Linked DNA regions of Homo sapiens: region 1 is linked to region 2. The links are contacts of gene promoters, found by promoter capture Hi-C in blood cells and fetal thymus (Javierre and others, 2016). All regions are on one chromosome and are shown on one strand. Each heading gives the region's core, a stretch centred on a gene start or on the middle of the fragment in contact. The rest is flanking DNA. Distances are from core to core; before and after follow the strand shown.

What was found. The method cuts DNA at HindIII sites, captures the fragments that hold promoters and counts their contacts. A CHiCAGO score of 5 or more calls a contact.
Region 1: a contact is called between a fragment that was not itself captured here and the fragment with the promoter of DPAGT1 in region 2, in 1 of 17 cell types (monocytes). The highest score is 6.5, in monocytes.

The regions. Positions count from the first base shown.
Region 1 is chr11:117,091,050-117,098,197 of GRCh38, forward strand. SIK3 (SIK family kinase 3) reads right to left here. Exons shown (of 25, transcript NM_001366686.3): 1 at 7,094-7,148. Among named protein-coding and RNA genes, the nearest start is that of SIK3, 3.8 kb to the right of the region's middle. RefSeq lists an enhancer at 5,887-5,936. The HindIII fragment of the contact is 1,546 bases long and covers 4,691-6,236 here.
Region 2 is chr11:119,100,603-119,105,863 of GRCh38, forward strand. DPAGT1 (dolichyl-phosphate N-acetylglucosaminephosphotransferase 1) reads right to left here and starts at 1,251. Exons shown (of 9, transcript NM_001382.4): 1 at 893-1,251; 2 at 416-536; 3 at 28-241. The coding sequence starts at 1,053. It also overlaps a transcript of C2CD2L not described here. RefSeq lists enhancers at 379-1,092, 904-2,103, 1,286-1,595, 1,807-2,519. The HindIII fragment of the contact is 9,998 bases long and covers 1-1,619 here.

The DNA of each region.
Region 1 (7,148 bases), core at 4,214-6,713, 2.0 Mb before region 2:
AGTGATAACTGGATTCTAACTCCAGCTCCCCCACTAACTACCTATAAGACTCCGGGAAAATGGGAGTGAGGAGAGAGATGAGCCATGAATCTAATGGATAATTGGTCTAAATGACTTTAAAAGTCCGTAAAATCCTGAGGTTTTTTTTTTCTTTTTTTTTTTTTTTTTTTTTGAGACGGAGTTTCACTCTTGTTGCCCAGGCTGGAGTGCGACGGCACGATCTCGGCTCACTGCAACCTCTGCCTCCTGGGTTCAAGCAATTCTCCTGCCTCAGCCTCCCAAGTAGCTGGGATTACAGGCATGTACCACCACGCCTGGCTAATTTTTTGTATTTTTAGTAAAAACAGGGTTTCGCCATGTTAGCCAGGCTGGTCTCGAACTCCTGACCTCAGGTGATCCACCTGCCTCAGCCTCCCAAAGTGCTGGAATTACAGGCGTGAGCCACCATGCCAGGCAAAACCTGAGATTATAAATTCTGTTAAGTCTGTCTTTCCAGACTGTGGAGAAGACAGAACTAGAATAGAACCTCTCTAAGGTCTTTTTCATGCCCAATAAATCAACAAATACTTGTTAGTTGATCATGCTTAATTTATGTGCAATTTATGTCAATATTCCTCTACAGTGAGAAAGAATATAAGTTGTTAAAACTGAACTCCTCCCTTGTGCCAAGAAATGCATCAGAAAAGGATTCTTGCTCTTAACCATAAAATAACCAGCATGAGTTGCTGTTTTTCTTTTGGTTTGTTTTCCTGAGACAGGGTTTCACTCTGTCACCCAGGCTGGGATACAATGGTGTGTCCATAGTTCACCACAGCCTCAGACTCCCAGGATCAAGTGATCCTCCCGCCTCCACCTCCCAAGTAGCTGAGGCTACAGGTGCGCACCACCACACCCAGCTAATTTTTAAATTGTTTGTAGAGATGGGATCTCACTATGTTGCCCAGGCTGGTCTTGAACTCCTGGCCTCAAGTGATCCTCCTGCCTCATGCCCCCCCAAAGCACTGGAATTACAGGCATGAGCCACCACATCCAGCCACGTTTTAAAAACATAAATTAGGTGATATTAGTGTTCTGCTTGATACTCTCTGATGTCACCCCCGTGTCACACCCAATTCCATAAAATGGCCATAAGACCCAGATGATCTGGCCCCTCCTACATGTCTGGCCTCATCTTTTCCCATCCTTCCACTTGTTTGCTAAGGTACCATGGCATCATGACCTTGTGTCTAATCTTTGACCAAACCAAACTCACTTCTGCCCCATGGCCTTTGCACATGCCATTCCTTCTGTAAGGAATCTTCTGTCTTCCAAATCTTCCCAGGTTGGCTTTTTCTCATCACTCAGGTCTCAGCTCAAATATCATCATCTTGGAAAGAAAGGTCTTCCCTGACCACTCTATCTGAGGCAGCAGCCCCCCCCAGGGATTCTCTAGTCCGTTTATTTTCTTCCTGGTATTCATTCCTATATGAAATTTTTAATTTTTTTACATGTCCCTTGTCTGTCTCCTTCTACTAGAAAGCTCCAGAAAGGCAGATGCTTTTTGTCTCCCTTGTTCATTGGTGCACTCCAGACCCTAGAATGGAACCTGACAAAAAATTTTCATTCAATAAATGTGTTGAATGAATAAATGATTAAGGGAAAGGTTCCATCTCTATGCAGATGTCTTAGGTGTTGTTTTACAGTTACAGTGGCTCTGGTGAGTAGAAAGCATTTCTTTTTCTTTTCAAAGCATCCATTTTGTTCTCTTTTACGCGATGAACTAGAAAACATTAGCCAGACTGAAGCCTGAAAAATGAAAACAGCACTTCTGGCACAGAAATAACTAGTCTGGGCACCTCTGGCTTGAGCGAGATCTATGACTTTCTAGGGAGCTGGCACCAAAGTCAAAATGTTAAAATAAACATCTTTGATGTAGAAAATGGAATACTGGTATTTTGACTCTGGAGAGACTAGTCTCAATCAGTCTTAGCTCTTTACAAAATTTCAAAAACGTTTAGCAACCCCATCACCACTGTATCAAACTGAACATAATCATCTTTCAATAGTCACTTCTAGATTGTCTAGGGATGGGGCTATCTTCCTCAAATGTATCTAATGTAAATTCTGCTTTCAATTTCTTTTTGACATAATTCTCTCCTACTTACCAAATGAATCTTGTTTTCAGTTTTCTAATGGGTGAAAGCATCATCTCATGTGCTTCGTTAAACTCTTCTTTAGAGGTGAAAATAATGCTTTTAGCCCACTTTGACTTGTTCTCCTCATGGAAATGAGTTTGCACTAAACCACACCGATGTGTCTGGCTAGTCAATATTTGGAAAGGGGTCATAGGGCAAAATGTCTTCTCTGTGTAATATTTAAAGTTAAGAATTCTGACCTTGGCCGTCTAAGGCCTTTGCTTGTGCACGCAAGGGCAAATGTGTCCTTAAGCTTGCAGAAACATTTCTTAAATATTTCACTTAAACCTAATTTAAGTGGACCTCTGGAGAAAAGACTGCACTCAACTCTGTTCCATCATCAACATAACAAAAATTAGTTACACAAAACACACTGAAAATTCAAGGCAGCCCAAAGCAAAAGCCAGTGTTGGTCACAGTTTTCATTAGATAAGTCACATTGCTATTTAAAAAAAAAAAAAAAAGTTTAACTAATGAAAATTTATGTTTTAAAATGCTGATTTCATGAGATTAGCCAGCCTGTACCCTATACAAATTAAATCCAACTATCTCAAAGTGGCACCTGCAATAGTAGCAAACTTTTTTTTTACCAGGAAAGTCTATCGTCAGGATGGCATCTACCTACACAAAACTAATGGCATATACATTCATGAATCGTGCCCAAGGGGTGAGAAGCAAAAAAAGGAGGACTATTATTATGTCCATAATATTATTATGTTACTAAAACATCTGATAACGATGATGATGATGGTAATATTTACGTCATGCTATTAGGGCACCATGCTGCTCTAAGAGCTTTACATACACTATCTTCTTTAATCTTCATAACACCTAAACTTGTGAGGTAAGTACTACTGTCATCCCACTTTACAGATGAGGAAACCCAAGCACACAGAAGTTAAATAACTTCTCACAGCCTAAAAATATCCAACTATTAAGCAGCAAAAGATTCAAACTCAGGTTGCTTTATCCAAAGCTGGAACTCTTACCACAAACCAATAACAGGCAAGTGATATATATTTGTTGAAATATAGTTTAAACGTATTTGGCCAAAGGCTTTTATAGTCATGCATACTTTAAAAAATGCATATGGGCCAAGCATTTGGGTTACAGACTCATGCCTGTAATCCCAGCACTTTGGGAGGCTGAAGCAGGAGGATCACTTGAGTCCAGAAGTTCAAGACCAGCCTGGGCAACATAATGAGACCCCCATCTCTACAAAAAAAATTTAAAAATTAACCTGGTGTGGTGGTATAAGCCTGTAGTCCCAGCTACTTAGGAAGCTGAGGCAGGAGGATCTCTTGAGCCTGGGAGTTGGAGGTTACAGTGAACTCTGGCAGTGTCACTGCACTCTAGCCTGGGTGACAGAGTAAGACCCTGCCCCAATATTTTAAAAAAGGAAAAAAAATGCATACAAAATCTATCTACTCTTTGTTCCCAATCATCCAACTAGTGAAGGTATAATTAGGCACAGGCAACAGACTACCTGCAATTTGAGAGCAGAAAACATTCTTTTTTAAAAATATCTGTAATACTTTATAGTTTCCTACCAAAAAAAAAAACAGAGCCAGAGAACCTCAGGCTAAGTAAGGCTCTTCCAAAGAAAAGGAAATCAAAGCAGGTAGGACAAAGACAGCCAGGGTGAGCTACTAACCAAAGTATGTCACAGCTGAACATTCTCTCCTGGTAACTGTTCTGCAGTGCCGCTCTAAGCACTGCAGTGCTGCCAATATGAAGTCTGAGCTCATGAATGCCGTGCTGCAAAAGTAACCAACAACCAAATAGGAAAAGCTTCACTTTTCTCTACTGATTTTATTCATCCCAGGATCCCACTCTAGACGGTTTGAGAGTTAACAGAATTTGGGAAAGGGCCAGCTTAACCACGCAGTATTGGATGGAGTGCAGTATCCTACTCAATAAATGAGGTTTACTTTAGTCTCTTAGTTCTTGGAATGGGTCATGTGTGTTTAAAAAAAAAAAAAAAAAAAAAAAGGAGGGGGATCATAATTATTTCTAATGTTCAGAAAATACCTATTACCTAACCTCCTTCAGCCAACACAAGTATCATCTGAATTACCTCTGTCTGACTGTTATATATGGTTATAAGAAAACCCAGACCATTTCCTACAAGGGGAAAAAAAAATCACACACCTCTAAAAGACAAAACAACAAATGACACATTCTGGAGACAGATGGGGGAAAAAAATAACTCTCTGTTTCCAAATGACCCCTCTGCAGAAGTAAGATAAAGGCTGCAGTGCATGGGGAGAAAAAAAATCAACCTGAGTTAACTGAAGCAGCAGCTTCGGCAACTTCTAGTACCTATGCACCTTCACCATTGTTATATAACCAAACCATAACCTTAATAGGCCATCGTACTGTATGTCGACAGCTGTTAGGCACATCTAAGCTGTCCGCATTTGAGAACCCCTTCCAAAGTGGATTCAGAGAAGCATGGAGCAGGCCAAAATATGCTCCTAGTTCACCCAGAGCACGTGACAACTCCTTGTGAATTAAGCTTCACTCATGTAGTCAGAGTAATTTAAGCAGCAAAAGATATAGCACTTGTAACTGTAACTAGGAAATTGCACACTGCTACAGAAACACAAATGAATGCTGGTGTGGCTCCTTCACACATGCAACTCATTGTCCAAGCCATTTCAGTCTCATTCAAGACTTTGAATATTTCCATACATAGGAATTGCACAACTGCATACCACAAATGATCAAAGATAAAAACCAACATAAACAGTGACACCCGTTTGTAAACAAGCCAGTGTTTAAAATGCTGCAGTCCTAAAGGATACCAAGGTCTCAGAGAAAAACTATGAAAAACACACGCACGCACATATACACACACATGAAAATTAGAAAGCGGGCAGACCAGCCATAATTAGGCACTGGCTTTGCTGACTACTGAAGATAGAAATGTCTCTTTTATATTAAAGCCAAGAATCAACTGTTTGCAATTACATTTACGAAAACATTCAACCCTGTCTGTAACAGATTTTATCAATATTTTGGTGTATCCAAGGGCTGGAAGATTCAAAATTCTTTAAATCATGAAACCATAAACCAGGCAACCAATTAAGTTCATGGAGACTATCCCCCAGAGGTCAGAGCAAAATAACCACAGGAGCACAAAGTGATTACACAGAAAATAGGCAGAAAAAAAGGAAAGAAATAGCAAAACAAGGAACAAGGCATATTGTTTGTAAATGTAAGTTTGCCTTGGCTAATAGTCAACTAGACTGGAAACACGGTGAGGGGCTGGGGTGGCAAGTGAGGAGCACACCAAAGTCTTGGCTCAATCGACTTCCCCTGACTTCCCCTCAGGGTCTGAGGGAGCCCTGGACTTTGGTATCTCATTCAGCTCTGACCTGCAGACTGGAGGCCCTGTGATAAAAACGGACAAAAAGGCTGAAGAGGGCCCTCCAGAGGAAGTGAAACTGACCAATCAATTCGCCACAGCCACCCACCCTGACACCCTGGTAAGAAGGGCCCCTTGTAGCCTCAGGCAGAAAGATGGTGGGGAAGGAACTTCAGGTTGCAAGTGATCAGGAGAGAAGGCCTAGATAAGTCACTGGCTTCAGAAAACAAGCCACTGCCAAAAAAGCAAAAACAAGGTAGGTCATGACAACCAGAGGCTAGGCTGAGGAGGTGAGGGGAATTGATGTGGCTTTGGTAGGAGGCGGCAGCAGCTGTAAGGGTTCTTCATTCCTCAGGCTGAGGGAAAACACAAGCTGCAGTTCTAAACATAATGAATGACTACATTAAAAGTATTCATTCAAGTAAGATATTGAGCAAAGAAAATTTTAGAGTAAAAATGGGCTTTGCGGGTTCCACCAAAACCAAAAGATTCCTCCTGATGTCTTAGATTCCAGTCCTCCCAACGAAGGCTACATGAAAGTGCTACCATATTTCCTCAAAGAATTTTACATGCATACATATATAGCTTCCTAATTGACCTTGGCCAATTTCACTCCTATAGCGCCTCAAATCCCTTTGAGAACTAAGGGCTCGATGAGTGTAATCTCCCGGTGTCTGGGTTCTTCAATCACAAGCTTCCCCCCAACCAGTAAAAGCCCACCCTGGGTTCTACAAAGCCCACAATTCCCGACCCTCCAACAACTAAAAATAACCAGCAATCAGCTCTCCCAAATTGTTTAACCCCTGACTACCTAGTGCCATCATAAACCTGGGACAGCCCCCACCCCCACCTCACTCCCCCATTCCCTGGGCCCCTTCCTGTGGACAAGCAAAGCAATTTCCCCCTTATTTCCCCATTTTCCTCATTGCCTCCTCCACTAATCGTGTCTCCTCGGGATCCCCTTCGCACCATCTATCAGTCTTAGATGATCAAATGCGGATTCCTGTCTCTGTCTTAAGGCACCAGGATCCTGGGACCTCCCAGCGCCCTGCAGACGTGCACATTCCCAGTCCGTGCCCCAGCCGTCCTGGGTCCCCTTACAAGCCCGGGTCTGCCACTTCACCCTTGTTTTTCCCCATCCTCCGGGTCCACATTTCATATGCCCCTGCCCTCATTCCCTTATGATTCCCTAGCTGCTGGTTCCAGAGTCTTCTGGGCTTACAGTCTCCCGGCCCTCGGGGAGTTCCGACCCCTTCTTTCCAATCATCCCCTTTACCCGCCTGCCCTCAGCCCCGAGGACCCCTCCCCGCGCCCGGCTCCTGGGCGCCGGTGCTCTGTGCCCTCGGCCCCCTGCTTGGAGTTCCGCCGTCTCGAGTCCCAGGTGTCCCTAGCTCCGCGCCCGCCCCGCCGCGGCTGGCTCCCTCCCGCCTCCCGGCCCCCAACGCTCCCACCACGCGCCGCGCTCGCCGCCCCGACCCCCCGGCTGGGGGGCGCGGACCTCTCCCGGCCCCGCCACGCTCCGACTGCCGCCTGGCCCCTGCGCCGGTACCTTGGCCTTGGTGACGAGGTGCGTGGCCCGCTTGACCACCGCGAAGTTGCCCTTG
Region 2 (5,261 bases), core at 1-2,500:
AGGGGCAGCAGTGGTAGGACTACCTACCCAAGTCCAGATGCAGGCCAAGTATCGGGCGGAAGGGCTTGGGCACCACAATGGTCGTGTTGCCAAAGTTGGTGAAATAGACCATGAGGAGAGGTAGTGAGGCAGCTGTAGGTAGCAGCAGCTTATGGCGCCAGCGCAGATTCAGTACATCATCCGCAAAGCCCAGGAAGATCATGCAGCAGATGGCAAGGAGGGCACCTATCAGGGCCACAAACTGGGGGAGGCTCGGGCAGGTCCATGACTCAAGCCTGCTCCCATTCCACCTTTTAAGAATTCCTGTCTTTTCTGATAATTTCTTAGCCCCTCCCCACAAGCCCAAATAACCCCAGTTCTCTCAGGTACCTCCCAGGTCCCAGCCACAGGCAATCACCCCCACGAACCCACTTACTTCATGGTGGGGGAATGCCTTACACTGCTCCTTCACAAAGCAGTTCAGGAAGGGGAAAGGGATGAAGCAGAAGAGGATGATAAGGAAAACAGCACCGCTGATCACTCCCTGGGATTCTGGGCTGTGGCCCAGCAGCAAGGGGGCGAGGGGGAAGAGGAAAGGGGGCGTGGTCACTCACTAGTGCAGGTGTTACAGTAACCCAAAGTGGTCTTCTCATTCCCGGTTTTTTATTCTGGTAAGTGGTGAGGGGGGCGGAGGGAGGAAAGCACCACTGCCAGAGTCCCAGATATACCCAAGGGTCCCTACCCATCCTTTCCCCAATGCGAGTAAGTTCTGCTCATCACCTCTCCGAGTTCCAGGCTGCCTGGGTTAGTTCTGAGTCTTCACGTGTGGTCAAGCACCCCGGTTCCCGCCCCTGCCCTAGCCACTCCTTCCTTAGCCCTTGCCCCCTGCCCGGACCCGTGTGCCGCTGCTCACATCTGCTGTCGGCTGGTTTTGTTGAGGTCCTGACCACAGAGGCGCGCAGCAATGAAGTGGCCCCGGAAGGCCGGGATGAGGGTGACTGTGGCCACAAATCCCAGCAGCGAGACGATCAAATTGATCAGCAGCGGCATGGGCAATTCCGAGAAGGCCCACATGGTGACCGGTCAGGGGCCCGGCTCCGCCGCCTCTTCAGGTAACGGGCAAGCTGAGCAGCAGTCCTGAGGCCTCAGCAGTATGGAGTGGCCGCTCCCCACAGGCAGGCTCTTCCCACACCAATCTGAGCAAAACCCAGCAACTCTGACTTGAGCCGCCGTCGGGACACCGGGGAACCTCTCTAAGGCAACCTATGTTCTGCCCCGCTGCACCCGCCTATCTACTGTTTCCGCCCGGATCTTGTTCGCTGAACAACCATTACTGCGGAAGGCGGCGGCCGCCATTTTTAATATGGGCATTAGAGGGTGGGGATGGAAGTGGAAGAGAAGTGTGATTCCAAATTTCATCCTATGTTCAAGAGTAGAATCACCGAGAGAGTACTGGAAACGCAATTAAAGAAAGGCAGCCAAGAACGGATACTTCCCTAACATTATGTTAAAGATGTACTACCCAGAGCGGAAATGCCAATTGCCCGGTTCCAAGATGAATGCCTCCTTGTACCACGTGTCTGACACCGCTCACATTCCGGTTCCACGTCAGTTTTAGCTCCGTCCGCCTCCATAGGTCAAGCTTAAAGGGCCCGTACCTCTCCCTTAATCTGGGATGCCTCCGGCTCCAGGAAGATGGCTATTGAAAGGCAGGGGGTGGGGAGGAGGGACGAGGGTGTGGAGACGCGCCTGTTTCTTGCAGGAAACCTGTTGCCAACATAGTCGGAAGCCAAGGTAAACACAACTCAGTTCCCGGAAACAAAGCTACGATTTGGAAGGATGGTGTAAATTCTAAAGCGTAGATCCTTGAAAAGCCCCTCCCACTCTGTTTTTCTTGTCCTCGATTCTGGTATTTTTTTCTCAGCATCCCACCCACCTTCTGCCCCAGCTGTAGCAGTTAGTTGCCCGGCAACCCAGCGCAGCACTTCACTGAGGGATTGGGAGTACCCTCAGGTCTTGGATTTAACTCGAGACTTCAGCTTGGCCGTGGATCACTGCATTGTACCTAGCTCCCACAAGGAGGAGATGGAGATTTCCAGGCTGAGGCTCTGGAAAGAGCTGAGGAGGGAGAGGAATCAGACCCACAACTGATTTCCTGTGAGTCTGAGGAACTCCCAGTCAGGTTTCTTCCTGTAGGTCACTGTGCATTTTGCTTGGCCTCCTGCAGGTTGCTGTGCATTTTGCTTGGCCTGTTCCCCTGCAAACAACAATTCACCAGCTTTTTTTTTTTTTTTTTTTTTTTTTTTTTGAGACAGAGTTTCGCTCTTGTTGCCCAGGCTGGAGTGCAATGGCGCGATCTCGGCTCACCGAAACCTCCACCTCCCAGGTTCAAGAGATTCTCCTGCCTCAGCCTCCCGAGTAGCTGGGATTACAGGCAGTAGCTGGAATTACAGGCATGCGCCACCACGCCCGGCTAATTTTGTATTTTTAGTAGAGACGGGATTTCCCTATGTTGGTCAGGCTGGTTTGGGACTCCCGACCTCAGGTGATCTGCCCGCCTTGGCCTCCCAAAATGCTGGGAGTACAGGCGTGAGCCACCACGCCCAGCCAGTTCACCAGCATCTTTATTACCTTTCATTCCCCGACAGGCTCTTAGGCGGCAAATGATTTCCATTTGTCAGAGAGGAAGTCACCACCAGTGAGTTAGGGAAAGGACTCCAATAGCCTAGCGCTTTGTCCACTCTTCCCTCTATGGCATGTTCCAGGAGTCAGGGTCATGTTGACCGTTTTTAAGCCGAAGATAGTTTCTTCTTTCCCTCAAAATCAGATGTGAGGCCGGGCGCAGTGGCTAACGTCTGTAATCCCAGCACTTTGGTAGGCGAAGGTGGGTGGCTCACTTGAGGTCAGGAGTTCGAGACCAGCCTGGCCAACACGGTGAAACCCCGTCTCTACTGAAAATACAAAAATTAGCCGGGTGTGGTGGCACATGCCTGTAATCTCAGCTACTCAGGAGGCTGAGGCAGGAGGATCGCTTGAACCTGGGATGAGGAGGTTGCAGTGAGCCGCGATCATGCCACTGCATCCCAGCCTGGGCAACAGAGGGGAAACTGTCTCAAAACAAACAAACAAACAAACTAAATCAGATGTGAAATGGCTTTTCTACTTGAAAATGGCTCTAATTAACAACAACAAAAACCCAGATATGTATAAAATACATAAATTTTCGTAATTTACTTGCTAGTATTCCACCAGATTTTCAGTACTTATCCCACTGCTATTATTTTTCTGTGTGTGTTGTGTGTATGCACGTGTGCCCCTTTTAAACTAGAAACTCCCGGGAGGCAAGTGTTTTCTCTTCCACAGGGTGTCCCCATGGGGCTAGGAACACAGACATCTGTGTACAAGGAAGGCATCATCACACATAATGAGGCTGAGGCTGAAAGGAGGACTGAGGGCAATAGGTGCATATGGAGGGAGCAATTAGTTGTGACCAGAGTAAGTGGTCTTGAGGAAGAGAAGTATCATTTCAGTAGATTATAAGAGTAGAAGGACCTTTCACAGGCAGCGACAGTGAGACACCAGAAGCTGGTGGAAAGGAGGAGCTTGTGGGATCCCAGAGGAGGCAGCATTCAGTTATCTTGTTGATGACGAGTATACTGAGACTCCCTGGAGGTCTGAGAGCCAGTCTGTATCTATTTCCTTTTTTATTAGGAGGCCAATCCTAATAAATCTTCCTTCCCAGCCTGGTATTGGGAAGCTTTATCTCTTTCTTCTCCAGAGATCATTAGCCCTCCCTACCACCACCCTCCTGGGGAGGGTGGAAGGATGTAATCAAAGACAAGAGAGACTAAGGATTCATCATCCACATATACATGTTACTATCAGAAAATGGTTACTAAGATACTTGTCAGATAATCTGAGTATTTTTGTTCCCATGATGATAAAGTCCCAGTTGATGATCAGACTAATCAGAAGGAGAAACAAACACATGACTTTTGGCTTCACTTGAAATTGTGTGCCTTCCCTGGTAAAAGTTCAAAGCGTTTTCCTGAATGCTGAAGCCGGCCCTAGGATTCACAGACCAGTTGACTTGTCAGTGGCCCTGGACTGAGCAGACAGTGTTTGAGATGCACACCTCTTCTAAGTAGCCTTGAGTGGCTCCCAATGAGCAAGGCCAATCCACTGAATGTGATTGCTAGACAAAGCCTGTCCCAAAAATGTTTCATAGTGCCACAAAGACAATGAGACCCCTCTGGATAGTCTGGGGCTGTGATACTTGCAGGACTCTATCTGTGGCTCTGTCCAGTCAGCTGAATCACTCTTTTTCCTTTTCCTCCCACCTCTCCCCTCTTAGTCTAGAAAAAAGTTGTTAATTAAAAGCAAGCCCCAGGATTTCCCATTCCACTGGTATGGCATGAATGATATTTCAAAAGACAGAAATGGCATAGAAATTCTCAAAGCATACTTGAGTATTTTCTGTTAGACTTCTTAAAATTACAAAGTTTGTTAATCCCTACTATGTGCATAGGAAGCTCTTCAGTACTGTGGAGGATACAAACTAATATAATTGCAGTTGCTTGCCCCCAGGGAGTCTACTTCAGCATATTTGGAGCATCTTGGTTGAATTTGAGGGAAAAGAGATGACTAAGACATGGTTCCCACCCCTAGGCAGCTTCCTGATGCATGGAAAAAGCAGACATATAAACAATCAGCTAGACTCTAAGGCAGAATGTAAGTGCTAGAGGTCTAAGTAATGGAAGAAAGAAGGAGGACTAGGCTGGGCACAGTGGCTCTCACCTGTAATCCCAGCACTTTGGGAGGCCGAGGCGGGAGGATCACCTGAGGTCAGGAGTTCGAGATCAGCCTGGCCAACATGGTGAAACCCTGTCTCTACTAAAAATAACAAAAATTAGCCAGGCATGATGGCGCATGCCTATAGTCCCAACTACTTGGTAGGCTGAGGCAGGAGAATCACTCAAACCTGGGAGGTGGAGGTTGCAGTGAGCCAAGATCTCGCTACTGCACCCCAGCCTGGGCAACAGTGACTTTCTGTCTCAAGAAAAGAGAAAAAAAAAAAAAAAAAGAGGGAGGACTAACTAGGGAGACTCATGTAACTAGGTAGACTCACAGTTCAGATACTGAATTGTGAAGCAGTATCTGGCAGCATAGGACCAAGCACTCAGTGGAGAAGTTGAGGGAATAAATCAAAGAAGTCAGAGAATGGAGATCACTAGGGGGTCTGAGGGTTCCTGAAGGATTCTTGGGGGAAGAGGGTCTTCATA